Regions from separate parts of the Homo sapiens genome. Here region 1 is linked to region 2. The links are contacts of gene promoters, found by promoter capture Hi-C in human tissues and cell types (Jung and others, 2019). All regions are on one chromosome and are shown on one strand. Each heading gives the region's core, a stretch centred on a gene start or on the middle of the fragment in contact. The rest is flanking DNA. Distances are from core to core; before and after follow the strand shown.

Region 1 (6,693 bases), core at 2,945-5,444, 300 kb before region 2:
CCACCACTCCTGGCTAACTTTTAAACTTTGTGTAGAGATGGGGGAGTCTCTCTGTGTTGCCCAGACTGGTCTGGAACTCCTGGGCTCAAGCGATCCTCCTGTTTTGGCCTCTCAAAGTGCTGGGGTTGCAGGCGTGAGCCACTGCACCCAGCCTCTTAGACTTTTGGACAGCAGAGGGGCCAGGCCTTTAAATGTCCTGGGGGTGTGATGTGCTGTCCGTGGGGATGGTGGGGTCACCTGCCCCAGCCTCAGTGGGTCCCTCTTTTACATGCCTGCAGCTCACCGGATGCTCCCGTGTGGCACTCAGCTATCATGAGGTGTGCATCCGTCCAGGTGGACCCCAGAGCCCCGCATGCAACCACGGGCCCCGCCTGGGCCTCAGCCTCCATCCCAGGAATGGGAGAACCAGCTTCACTTCAGGCCAGGAAAGAGGGAGACTGAAAGAGCAGATGACATGGGACAGGACAGAGCCTGAGGCCCAGACAGGCCATGAGCGAGGGGAGGTGAGAATAAGGCCACAGGTGGTCCCGTGTCTGCCTTCCCTGCTCAACGTGCAGAGAGGGCTGGCCATTTTCTCCGGCTTCATCAGCATGCTCTACAGTCACTGCGAGTGTTGCAGGAGGAATTGTGGCCTCCTCCACAGCAGCGAGAACACTGAGCCCCGTTTCATCTGTCTTCCTCCTGTTTCCTTGAACCCTCCCAAGATTCTTTCTTTGGTGCGTTATTCATGTTGTTCCTTTTCCTGCAAGAGAGAGGCCTTTGTCCTCCTTGTTCAGCAAGCACCTAGTCAGTGGTAAAGTGCAATATTTAGCTGGTAACAAAGGTGTGGAATGGAATTGGCTTCCATGATTTGGCGAAGTATTTGCAAGAAGCCTATGGTGAGGCTTCTTGTTTACAGATCCACGTGTCTTAGTGGAAACCTCAGAAACACATGCTCTCGTGGATGCTGTCATTCTTCTTTTTTTGTTTGTTTTGGTTTTTTGGGGGGGGGTTTTGTTTTTTGTTTGTTTGTTTGTTTTTTGAGATGGGGTCTCGCTCTTTCTCCCAGGCTGGAGTGCAGTGGTGCAACCTCAGCTCACTGCAACCTCCACCTCCCGAGTTCAAGCCATTCTCCTGCCTCAGCCTCCTGAGTAGATGGGACCACAGGCGTGCACCACCACGCCCAGCTAATTTTTGTATTTTTAGTAGAGACTGGGTTTCACCATGTTGGCCAGGCTGGTCTCAAACTCCTGACCTCAGGTGATCCACCCTCCTCAGCCTCCCACAGTGCTGGGATTGCAGGCGGGAACCACTGTGCCTGGCCAGATGCTGTAATTCTTTGGAAAGGGATGGAGTTGGCATTTCCCCTTATGCTGTTGGGAAAATGGCTTTGCTAAGATGTCAGAAGTCCCTGTTAATACAACTTAAATAGATAAACCATAGTCAGAGCCTGGGGAAAATTCCTGTTTAACATATTCATTTGCATGCAGTGATGACACTTATTTCAAAGCATTCCTGTCTCAGCAATGCAGTAGGTCAAATGTGTAGGCATCCCTGGGCTGGCACAGGTACATAGGACTTCTAATGCTTGGCCTTTTCCCTAGTTTGATTGTACTCTCTGACCAGCCTGATTTAGGAAGGGTTTGATAGTACAATATCCGTCTTTCCCTCACGCGTGCTGCCAGTCCCAGGGGGATGGGAGCAGCCACTCACCCGTAGGAGTTCCAGGTGTGCACAGCTGGCTCAGAGCCTGCTGGCCCAGCACACATTTCCCAGGCCAGCACAGTGTGCTGAAGTGCTTTTCATCAAACAGTTAACAAGACTTCCTTATACATTTCCCCAGTGTCAAGAAAAACAAAAGGTGCCCAGTTCTCTGCTGCCTCCAGCAGTGCTGGGCAGAAGTGAGACAGGAAGCCAGGCTCCCGAGCTCACACACGCAGACGTAGGTGGGAAGCTACACTGCGTGGGCTTTCACATCCCCAGGGCCCGGGCTGAGGCCTCTTAAAGACAAGCTGGCCCTGTGCTTGCTCCACACCTGACGCACGCCAGGCCAGGCCACAGCGTGGCTCTCTGTCAACAGAGGAAGTGGCGCAGTAAGTGGCCAGCCCCTCCCTGCTTTGGAAAGGTCCCGCTATTCACAGAATCCTGGGTGTGAGCCCTGACACCAAAGGCAGAAACCACAAGGGAGAAGCCAGCCCTGGCTGCCTAAATGCGAAATAAGCCTGTTGCTGGCTGCCACGAAAATGCCACTGTGTTCCAGTCCTAAATGGGGTGCATGCTATTGGTTTGAGACAGTGATTTTTTTTTTTTCTTTGAGACTGGGTCACACTCTGTCACCCATGCTGGAGTGCAGTGGCATGATCTCCGCTCGCTGCAACCTCCGCCTCCCGGGTTCAAGCAATTCTCCTGCCTCAGCCTCCTGAGTAGCTGGGACTACAGGCACACGCTGCCACACCCAGCTAATTTTTTGTATTTTAGTAGAGATGGGGTTTCACCGTGTTGCCCAGGCTGGTCGCGAACTCCTGACCTCAGGTGACCCGCCCGCCTCGGCCTCCCAAAGTGCTGAGATTACAGGCGTGAGCCACTGCACCTGGCCGAGAGAGAGATTTTTATCACATGAAGAAAATAGCTTCTTTCTGTGTTTTCAAGGTTGTGGCTTTTTTAAAATCAGAAAAGAATATTGAGTTTTCTCAAATGCCTTCTCAATGCGTATTAAAATGACGGTACATTTTTTTCCCATGGTGTATTAAAGTGTGATTTTGTAGTAACAGGTTTAAAGCATTCCTGAAATTAGCCCTCCTTTAAATAAAATATGCTATGTGGCTAGATGAAGTTTGTTAGCATTGGGTAGGGGACTTGAGTGTCTATTTATAGGTGGAAGCGAAGGGCATCTGTTCCGTCCGTGTGCGCATGCGTTGAGACGCATGTCATGCCATCTCAAGAGGCTTGGGATCAGGGTTTGTTAACTTTTTTAAATGAACTGGGAAGCTGCACATCTTTTTCTTTCACTTTAAGAATTTGCAGTGGCTCACGCCTCCCACACCTGTAATCCCAGCACTTTGGAAGGCCGAGGTGGGAGGATCGCTTGAGCCCAGGAGTTTGAGACCAGCCTGAGCAACATAGTGAGAACCTGTCTCAATTAAAAAGAAAAAAAAAGAATTTGAAAGAACTGCCTGGGATCTAGTGCCTTTTGAAACAGCAATTCTTTAATAACATTTGCCATTTTTCTTCTTGGAATTCCTCCTTTTTAAGTCGATATTTGATAGTTTATAATTTAACCAAAAAGTATCCCAATTCACTGAGGATTTTCCAATTTTTAACAAACCTTTTTTACGTATTAATCTCTTATACTTCTTCTTTTTCTTTTCTGTTTTTTGTTTTTTGTTTATTTGTTTGTTTGTTTAGGACAGTGTCTGGCTCTGTCGCCCAGGCTGGAGTGCAGTGGCACGATCTCGACTCACTGCAACCTCTGCCTCCTGGGTTCACGGCATTCTCGTGCCTCAGCCACTCAAGTTAACTGGGACTACAGGTGTGTGCCACCATGCCTGGCTAATTTTGATATTTTCAGCAGAGATGGGGTTTCGCCATGCTGCCCCGGCTGGTCTTGAACTCCTGAGCTCAAGTGATCTGCCCACCTCGGCCTCCCAAAGTGGTGGTATTACAGGCGTGAGCCACCGCACCTGGCCTATATTGCTTCTAATAATTATTGATGGACAAATTATGTGCCATTTGGAGAGATTTATTTTGTTCTTTTTAAAAAATATCTTGCTTTGGATACTTATTTTGTTTATTTTCATTTATTTTTGTTTAATAAAATAATTTATAACTATTAATTTTTCTCAGAATTCACTTTTGCCCCATTCCATTCATTTGTACATATAGTATTGCCGATCTTGTTCTCTTAATATTTTGTAATTGAATTTTTAAATTCTCCTGTGACTTCGAAATTATATAAATGATCTTTCATTTCTAGGAATTCCATTTTTTTAAATTTATCCTTTTTTTAAAACTAATTTTTAGTTTTCAGTATTGTAGCCTGAGAATATTGACTTATGATTTATACTCTGGGGATTTGATGAGTCTCTTTTTGCCGCCTAACACAGACCCAGGGGCCTTTGAAAAGCCGGCTGAGTCTCTGTAGAATAGAACCTTTATCAGACAGTCACTGCATCGGTTTATTAACATTATTTTTCATAATCACTTTATGCTACTGTTTATCTACCTAGCCTTGGGAGGTGTGTTTAAGTCTCCCACGTGTCTTGCGTTCCTGGCAGCTGCGGGCTGTCTGTACGCTGTGGCGCAGTGCCAGCTGTCCTGGGTGGAGCATCCCCATCAGCCCCACTGATGGCCCTTCTCACCGGCCTGGGCCAGGTCTGCTGGGAAGCCCACACCCCTGCTCACCTTCTGTCTGCGTCTCCTGGGTACATCCCTCTCTCGCTGTCTTCCTTCAGGCTTTGTTTCACTTTGCCTTGGAGGTGGCCACTGTGACCAGAGTAAGGGGGATTTTTGCTCTTACCCTCCCTGCCCCGGTGGTGTCTGCAGTCTGGTTGTTGAGACCAACAGTGGGTGAATAATCACATGAGTTCATGGACAGCCACAAAGTAACACCCATCTATGAAGGAAAACCCCACTTTGCTGGGGAAGCCAAATATGATTGAAGCATCCAGAAAAGGCCTCTTTGAGGACGTGACATTTAAGCGAAGGGCGAGCATAGGGTGGCCTTGTGAAGATGAGGCTAAGAGCTTTCCAGTTAAAAGGAACAGCATGTGCAAAGGTCCTGAGGCAGAACACTGGCCACTGTGGCTAGAATGTGGCCAGCAGGAGGGAGGGGACCCAGTTGAGTGACCCACACAGAAGCTTCTGAATCTGGGACAGGTGTAATGGTGAGCACTGAAGGCGTGAAGCAGGGGTGGGAAGGTGTGGACGGTGGGCTTGGGCAGCGGCCAGGGTGTGGGATGTGGCCTGGAGAGCCCGTGGTAGCTAAGCCCAGCATGCAGAGTGGAGGGCGGTGGAGGGGTTTGATGGCTGCCCCTGACTAAACTGGGGGAGGCAGAAGAAGGGGTAGATAGATGCCAAGCCCCCACATACTCACTACAGAAAAGTGGAAGCTGGTATGTAAGTTGTAATAACCCATCCACCAGGACGAGTCACTTCTGCCCCATCCTGGGCACAGTGATGGGGCCTCAGGAGGGGAGGGCACCCTTGAGGGAAAGGGGAGCCATGATAACTCAGGGGATAGGCATGGCATGGGGGCCCTGAGTCACATGTGTTCACAGCCAGAAGTGAACAGCCCAGGCTTCAGGTGGAGGAGGGAGAATGGGGAACTCTCAGGTGCAGCCCAAGGCCGAGAGAGAAGGAGCACTTCGCGGGGGATGCCTCTCCTCCGGGGGCTGGTAAGGGCCCGGGGTCTTCAGTGAGTGAGGATGCCCCACTGCCACCCGGAGCAAGGCTGGAGTGAGGATGAGGTGGGGGCCTGGAGCAAGGGCGAGGTGGAAGAGGGAGGGGTAAGGAGGGATCGGGAGGAGGAGGAGGGGCTGGGAGGAGGAGGGAGGGATCAGGGGGTGGAGGAGGGGCTGGGAGGAGGAGGGAGAGGCCAGGAGGAGAGAGGGATCAGGAGGAAGAGGAGGGGCCAGAAGGACAGGGAGATGGAGGAGGGAACAGGAGGACCAGGAGGACGCAGAGGTCTCCGCAGAGGGGGTGGGGGGAACACAGCGAGGAGGAAAGTGGGGTCCTGCCCCCAGGGCCCACCCCGCACCCCCACTCACCCTTCCACAGAGCCCCTTCCTGCCTCAGAGTTGGGTCCCGCGGGGCCCCCAGTTCCACGCAGGAGGCCACTGAGACTGGAGAGGCCCAACGCCCCGTCCCCGCTCCCTGTCTGCCCTGCACGCCTCCCCCATGAGCCGCTGTCACCAGAGGGTCCCAGCCCTGCCTGCACATCAGAGCCCTCTGGTGGGAAGACCCAGGCTGCCCCAGACACCAGGCACGGTGGCTGCAGATGCAGTGACGCCAACATCTAGTTTCCTGTGAGCCTTCCTGCTAAAATGAGCTGTTAAATATAATTATAAAAAGTATGTATGCTCAAGGTAGAAAACCCAAAAAAGTTGAGAGAAAAGTCCTTCGTGTTATTACCATTCTGGTGGGGATCACTCCTGTGACATTCTGCTGTGTCCCCCTCCCATGTGGACCATTTTACCCCAATCCAGGCTGTTTATGGCACCTGGTCTAACCTGCTGCTGCTTTTCAAAACTTTATTTATTTATTTAGCAGAGAGACTGGGTCTCACTAGGTTGCCCAGGCTGGTCTTGAACTCCTGGCCTCAAGCGATCCTCCTGCCTCAGCCTCCCAAAGTGCTAGGATCACAGGCATGAGAGCTGTTCTTCTGCCCAGCTTTAGAACATAAATGTTTTTCCACATCTTAAAATTTTCTTCCTAAATATAATTTTAACAGCTACATAATGGAGCCACTCATAAACAATTTCTGTGACCGCTGTCCTGTTGTTTGCTGTTTTTCATAATTATAAATCTGCAGTGGACACCTTCTTACATCACTGTTATCTATATTTCACATTATTAATTTAGGATAATTCCCAGTAATGCAATTACGGGGTCAAGAGGCATCCGTGAGTTTGAGATTATTGATACATATTGCCAAATTGTGTTTCAGAAAAATTGTACCAGTTTATCTTCCCTGAGGATTGCTATGAGTGCCTGCCT
Region 2 (7,230 bases), core at 1,237-3,736:
CACAAGTATGTGAAACCAGATTCTGTTCTTGTACAAACGATTTTAACCTGTCAAATCTCATCTTGTTGGTTGTAGCTAACAGCCTGCAATGATAACTATGGATCCCAATTGTCACTCATTTTAGTACTTATCCCTCTCAGCTTCCAATCATCTACAAATTCTGAGATCTTCTTCGTTTTAAAGCTATTTTTAAAAATACACTCAGCCAAGCAGGACCTGTTGACAATGTCAGTGCCCTCCTGGCAGATGGGGAGCAGCTGACCAATCCAATCTCAGGGTGGTCAGCAGTTTAAACACCATGCACCCCCTCTGCCACCCTTTCAGCTCAGTCAAGGTTGGAAACTGAGTTTGGAAAAAACGGCAACAGGATGTACCTTTCCCACTGTATCTGGCAAAAGGCTGCTAAGGTGCCAACCTATGAGATTCTGAGTTGCCAGGTTTTTTGTCAGTCAAGGGAGCCTGCTCCTGAGCAGAACCTAATTAATTGCAGGTAAAAAGCAATGGAGATTTTAAGACTCATAGGTTTACACGCACACTGGTGAATCCAAATGCTGTCCCAAATATATTCAGATAGAAATTATACTCCATTGACAAGAGAAAAAAGACTGCTACACAAATCCAATTTTTACCCACAGCTAAAACCGTGGTTATTTTGAAAATGAATGGCTGAGTCAAGTTCAAAGACTCCAGGACCAGTTACTGAGATGCTCTGTACCATCAGAACGGTCAGTGGGGGCAGGGCACGGTGGCTCACACCTGTAATCCCAGCAATTTGGGAGGCCGAGGCGGGCGGATCACCTGAGGTCAGGAGTTCAAGACCACCCTACCCAACATGGTGAAACCCCGTCTCTACTAAAAATATAAAAATTAGCCGGGTGTGGTGGTCGGCGCCTGTAATCTCAGCTAGTAGGGAGGCCTAGGCAGGAGAATTGTTTGAACCCGGAGGTTGCAGTGAGCTCAGATCTCACCATTGCACTCCAGCCTGGGCGACAAGAGTGAGACTCCGTCTCAAAAAGTAAAATAAAATAAAATGTTTTCTCGCCCAGAATTACTGCAAATCACAAGCCTGAACATCCTTGGAAGCTCAATTCAAACACTGCCTCCTTCCCCAGTCTCTCGGTGCCCGACAATCCCTCCTCAAGAGTCCTCAGCATTTCCCACAGTCATTAACTTTTGCCAGTTTTAATTACCGTAATTAGTACCCTTCAGAAAGCAGCTCTTAGAAAGCGAAGGCTGGGCCTTACTCACCTCCGTCTACCCTACAACAGCAGCTCCCAAACCACTGGTCTCCAGCCCCCGCTGGGTTGGCCTGGGGATTTAGTAACAGATTCGGAAACCCCACTCTCAGGGATTCGGATTTACTGGGGCTGAGGTGGGCCTGGAAATCTGAACGTCTTAAGTTTTCCAGGTTTTCTGCCCCCAAGTTAAATTTTGTAATAAGGCCCTAAACTACAACATCAAGCTGGAAGTCTTGCATATGAAATATTCACGCGTTTTGACAGATGAAACCCGGAGACTGTAACCCACAGGACGCAGGGATTAACACAGGCCCTGTTTCAAGCTGCTAGGATGCTGAGCTCAAACCACAGCCCACAGGGACTCCCACTGGCAGGGGCCAGCGCTTAGGAGATGAGCGGACCCCTTAACTTCAAGGAGAGGGGGAACTTCCCGTGGACCAGAAAAAAAAAAAAAAAACTACTGTTAATTATCACAAAATCACAGGATGACAGAGGAGGCATCCTGTCTTCCAGGCTTCAAAAACACGAAGGATTAAGATGGTGATTAATTCAATCTCCAGTGCAAATAAAAACGCCAAGCCCCTGAACTTGCACCGGCCCGGAACGCGGCCGTTCCACAGCCCGCGGGTGAAGTGCGGCCCGGAAGCCGCGGGCGGGCGACGCGCAAGGCAGCCCAGGCCGCGGGTGGAATCGGGGCGCGGGGGCCCGCGGTGCCGCCGGGCGTTCAGAGCCGGTCCCTCGGGTCGGCCCACGCGGTCGCGCCGGCGCCTTTCACCGCCACGCAGAGGGGCCGTGGCCACGACGGCTCGGCCCTTTCCTTCCTGCGTAGCGAAAATGGCGGAGCGGCCTCTCCGAGCTCCGCGAGCGACCGGGCCTCCGACAGGGCCGCCAGTGGGCCGGACGGGGCCTGGCCAGGCAGGAGCAGGCCCCGTGCAGCCCGCGCCGCCCGCCGCCTCCCAGCGCGGGCGCCGCCTCAGCCGCCCCGGGCCTCAGGCCGCCCCCATCCCGCCTGCTCTCCCTTCCCTGGCCGGCCCGGCGGCAACGCCGCTTACCGGCAGCCGGGCGCGGCGAGCGCTCGGGCTCCGGCAGGTCCCCGAAGAGGTCCATGGCGGAGGCTGGGTGGAGGCGGCAGCAGCGACAGACACTCAGCCCGCGAGCAGCGGCCGGGCTCCACACCCCGGGCGGGCGGCAGCAGCGGGCGGGCGACGGGCAGGGGCGGCCGGCGCCGTCAGTCACCTGCAGGGAGAGTCCCGGACGCCACCAATCGGCGCGCGGCGTGGCCCGGCCGCCCCAGAGGGCTGCGCGCGGGCTGGGCGGGGCGGCTGGGGGCGGGGCGGTGCGCATGCGCGTGGGCCCCTCCCGCGCCCCGACTGCGAGCCGGGCGGACGGCGCCGTCTGGGCCCCGCGGTGTTTCCCGCCTTGGCGAACCCCGGGCCCCTCCTGCTTTTCCTTGGCTGGGGGTGTCCGATTTCTGTCAAGTTTCGTTGAGTTCCTGTCCAAGAAGCCCTGTCCAGAGAGAAACGTCTGAGCTCAAGGGCAGCCCCTGATGCCTGGGAAGGCTTTCTGGAGCTCTTGCCATCTCTTCGGCTCGTCCTTTCACCACGGCGTGCCTGGTTTCTGGCCTGTTTTAGAGACTGAGAAACCGAGGCTTGGATGGAGCGGCCCTGGGCGTCAGGACGGAAACCTCAAAAGATGCCGGAGGGAAAGGAGGCATTCCCTGACTTGTCTGCACCCACTGGTGTCTGTGGGGAGCGGAGAAGAGGGGCTCCTCCTTAATGGTGTCCCCCTCCATGCCTGTAAAGAGAAAGGCGGCCACTGACATCGGGGAGCTGGCCTGGTTCTGCAGCCAGGACTTGGGGTTGGTCTGGCACAAACAGCTAGGCCTGGGTGTTCTCTTTGAATGTGAACAATTTCATAAAACACCAACATCAGGCCGTGATACAGATCAAGAGAAAAAAACAGACCACTGTGTAATCAAGTGTGAACACAGACAAAACAGGAACACTGTCCAAGCCACAAAAGTGACCACATTCCCCTCGTCTTGGCCAATAAGAGTGATTGCTGCTTCTTTACCATTACATGTTTAGCCTTTGTCTCGTCCTCCTGCCGTCTAGATAAGCTTCATCAAGATATCCAATCATGGAATCCTCCTCTTCCTGACATCCAATCCGGAGCAAAGGCCCGTTTCCATAAATGTTTCCCCAAATCAACTAACACAAACCCAAATCTTACACCTCCGTTCCAACATCGTTTACCCAAGTTCCCCAGGTTATGTGGTCTCCCTCCATGCAAAGAGTTTTCAGCCCAGTTCATTCTGGGGCAGATGTATTTCTGACGCTCTCTGGCTGTAGGACATGGAGGGAGCCCAACAAGGCTTCATGCCTCTCATCTGCGTGGCTTCTCACTAGCAACCGTTTGAGATATTCATGCTGCCTCCTCCATTACAGCAGAAACACTCAAGTAACAATGCTTGTAACCGTTAAAGAAAGAGGAAATAAATACAAAAAGCGGCTCAACATTAAAAGGTTTATTTCAGAGAATAAACCTGAGAGGGGATTCTGGCCAATTTCGATCAGGAGCGCTCTCTCTTACAGACTAAGCATTCTCTCTTACAGACTAAGGATATTTAAGGGTTTTGGAAGTGGGGGAACGTTTATTGCAGGGTTGGAATGTCTCTGGTCGGAGGGGAGGCTATTGGAGGAGAGGTTATTTCAGGGTTAGCATGTTTCTGGTTGAAGAGAGGTTTATCTTAGGGTTGGAATATTTCTGGTTATGCTGACATTAGCCGTTAGGCTGATGTTTTGGGGTAGGATTTAGGTGGTTTTTTAATCAAGGGGAACTTAGAAAGGTGGTGTTTGTCCAAGATGGCAATGCTCCTGCTCTATCAATCCAGTCTCTATAGTTATGAAAAGGACAAGGGGCAGCGCATTTTTTCTGGCTACTTCCTGCTGGGGGAGTGAGCAGAGAGTTCTTTGGTTTCAGATTGATTGTAGGAGTAACGCTGTCTGTAGATGTTTTTGGGTAATTGTCTGTGAGATGGCCATGATCCTGCTGGTTAAAAATCTTTGAAAAAGGTGGCCAGGCGCGGTGGCTCACGCGTGTAATCCCAGCACTTTGGGAGGCCAAGGCGGGTGGGTCACGAGGTCAGGAGATCGAGACCATCCTGGCTAACATGGTGAAACCCCGTCTCTACTAAAAATACAAAAAAAAAAAAAAAATAGCCAGGCATGGTGGCGGGTGCCTGTAGTCCCAGCTACTTGGGAGGCTGAGGCAGGAGAATGGTGTGAACCCAGGAGGCGGAGCTTGCAGTGAGCCGAGATCTCGCCACTGCACTCCAGCCTGGGCGACTGAGCAAGACTCCGTCTCAAAAAAATAAAAAAAACTTAGAAAAAGGTTAATTAAGCAGGGTAAGAACATTATTCCTAGGCATATTTTTAGGAGAGAGCCCAGGAATGGGATGACCCATATTAGGACTTTGTTTTTAAACCAGTAATTTATTTGGTTGTCTTGTTATTCTCTTAGCTTTTTAGCCCTTTCTTTAAGTTTTTTAGCAGCGTCTCTTACTAGGCCCAACTGATTGAGATAGAAGCAACATTTTTTACCGAATGAGAGGCAGAGGTCCCCTCTTTCAGTTGTTATAACATCTAATTCCTGTCTATTTTGGAGGACTACTCCAGCCAAGGAGTCTACTCCAGCCAAGGAGTCTAGTTGGCCTTGGACTCTTATAAGGCTTTGGGCCATATGCTCTAATGAACTCTGCAGTTCTGTTGAAAGAGATTTCAAGTATGTTAAGCAGGTGGCGAATCAGCCTGCTCCCAACCCAAGCCCGGAGGTTATACCTAAGGCAGCCATTAAAGGAATGACGTGGATGGCTCTCCTCTTCCTAACATATTGGATGGATGGAACGGGTAAAGATTGATTAGGAGGAACTAGTCCAATGGAGGGAGAAAGATAAACTAGGGTACAGGTTCTGGTCTGGTTGATGGGGAGACAAAGAAATATGTGTTGAGACCACACAAAAAGAACAAGCCTTTATTGTAAATACAAGCAGAGATATGGACAGAAAATAAGTGAATTAAAGATGAGGTGTTTGTTCTTTCCTGTGGTTCATTACTCCAGGTGGACAAGGAGGAGGCCTGGGAGACACCTACTATACTAGAGGTATAGGAAGAGTTATTTTTTACAGATTTAATGCGGTCGGATGCTGCACTATTGATATTGAGCCAAGGAAAATTGTGGGCACTAGGAGCAGCACAGGTTAGGCTGGAGGCATTGGCTGAGGGAAAGGCTGTCAAACGAGCCAGCTGCAGAAATGCTCCGTTCGCTTCAGGTGATACTTGGTAGTTAGCCTGGTTAGTTTGATGGTCAGAGGGGTGTTTAACAATGATAGTGTGGTTGCATAGGTTAGATGTTAAGGACCCTACAGGGAAATTTCCCTCCGAGGCTGAAAAGCAAAGTGAGGCTCATTATAAGAGGAGGAGTGTGTTTAGTTATGGGCCCTTCAATGGGAGGGCCGTGGGGCTTAAGGCGCTGTAGGGAGTTATCCTAGGTTTGAAATAATTTGTTGGCCTGATCGGCCCTGGAAGTGGGATAATCACCGACTAGAGTGTCAGCTCTTTCAAAAAAGGAAGCTCCTTTTTGGAGTTTATAAATTAGGGTTGTGTTTCCTGTTAAAAGGTCATGAAGGAATGTAGGAAGGGCTGTGTAAGCTAAGGAAGACAGCGATAAACACACCCAGCATTCCAGAGCAAAGGAAGAGTTAGCTTGCCGCAAGAGAGATTGTGTAAGGTTTATAGAGCGTTCTAGTTTGAGAGCAGTGAGGAGTGGTTGTATTGATGAGGTTGATGTGATTAGGGAATTTATATTGAAAGAAACAAGCAAAAAGCGAAAAAAGTTATTTGGGTAGGAGTAAAGTCCTGGAAAGTTCCTTGAAGCCATAGGTCCCATAGAGCAGTAACGAGCTGATCAGGATGTATAATGGGAGCTTCCTAAGGGCACCACTGAAGGTCTGTAACAAGGTTAGTTAGGAAGTGATGAAAGTTTGGGAGAGAAAGAGACATAAGCGGCTTATGTGGATTTCTCCTCCTTTTCCTCAGGGATTTGGGTGAGGCGAAGAGAAGTGGGTCCTGGGAGACACGAGAGAAGGCCGAAGGGGTTTCAGACTTGGTTGTTTGGGTATGTGGTGAAGGGAAGTCTGTTTTCTTGAGAGAAGTACAATGAAACCAGCTGGGGAGTCCCTGGAGTTTCGGTGCTGTGGGTGTGGTAAGGATGATCTGGTAAGGTCCCTTCCACTTAGGTGTGAAGCAGGAATTGAGGGTAGGACTGGGGTATTTTACCAGAACCCAGTCTCCTGGCTGTAGGGAGGGATTAAAGGAGTCGGTGATGGGTTGTGGCAGGTATTTGTCAGCATATTCCTAAATGAAATGGCAGATGGTATGTACAAGAGGGGAAATGAGAGGGATTGGTGGAGGTGGGGCTTGACCCTGAGGTGGAGCAGAGGGGCAAATGGTCTCCCATACATGAGTTCAAAGGTGCTGAGCGTTAGAAGTTTACATTGGAGCACCCGAATTTTTAGAAGGGCTAAAGGCAAAAGTGTAACCCAGTCTTTATGTGTTTGGTGTGAGTACCTGGTGAGGGTGTTTTTGTAGAATGCCATTCATTTCTTCAACCTTTCCTGAAGATTGAGGTCGAGAGGGGAGGTGCAACTTCCAGGTGATTTGTAGGGCTTGTGCAAGTGTTTGAATAATTTGAGAAATGAATTCAGGGCCATTATCAGATTGAAAAGAAAGAGGCACCCCGAACCTGGGGATGATTTCTGTTATTAATTTGGAGAGTAGGAGCTCGTTTGTTGGTTGTGGGAAAGGCCTCGACCCGTACCAAAAAGGTATCAACCAGAACTAAAAGAAATCAAACCCTTTTTACTGGGGGCATGTGGGTAAAACCAATTTGCCAGTCCTGTTCTGGAAGGTGTCCCTTGGATTGATGGGTTAGA

Evidence for each region. The method cuts DNA at HindIII sites, captures the fragments that hold promoters and counts their contacts. A contact is called where the count stands out against the background at its distance.
Region 1: a fragment that was not itself captured here is called in contact with the fragment with the promoter of ILKAP in region 2 in 1 of the 25 tissues and cell types used here (small bowel).

The regions. Positions count from the first base shown.
Region 1 is chr2:237,896,796-237,903,488 of GRCh38, forward strand. All of the region lies in intron 2 of RAMP1 (receptor activity modifying protein 1), which reads left to right. Among named protein-coding and RNA genes, the nearest start is that of RAMP1, 41 kb to the left of the region's middle. RefSeq lists enhancers at 1-2,160, 2,128-2,177, 2,258-2,367. The HindIII fragment of the contact is 6,975 bases long and covers 708-6,693 here.
Region 2 is chr2:238,201,209-238,208,438 of GRCh38, forward strand. ILKAP (ILK associated serine/threonine phosphatase) reads right to left here and starts at 2,487. Exons shown (of 12, transcript NM_030768.3): 1 at 2,291-2,487. The coding sequence starts at 2,345. RefSeq lists enhancers at 1,474-1,533, 2,496-3,368 and silencers at 1,904-1,993, 2,114-2,683. The HindIII fragment of the contact is 8,585 bases long and covers 1-5,310 here.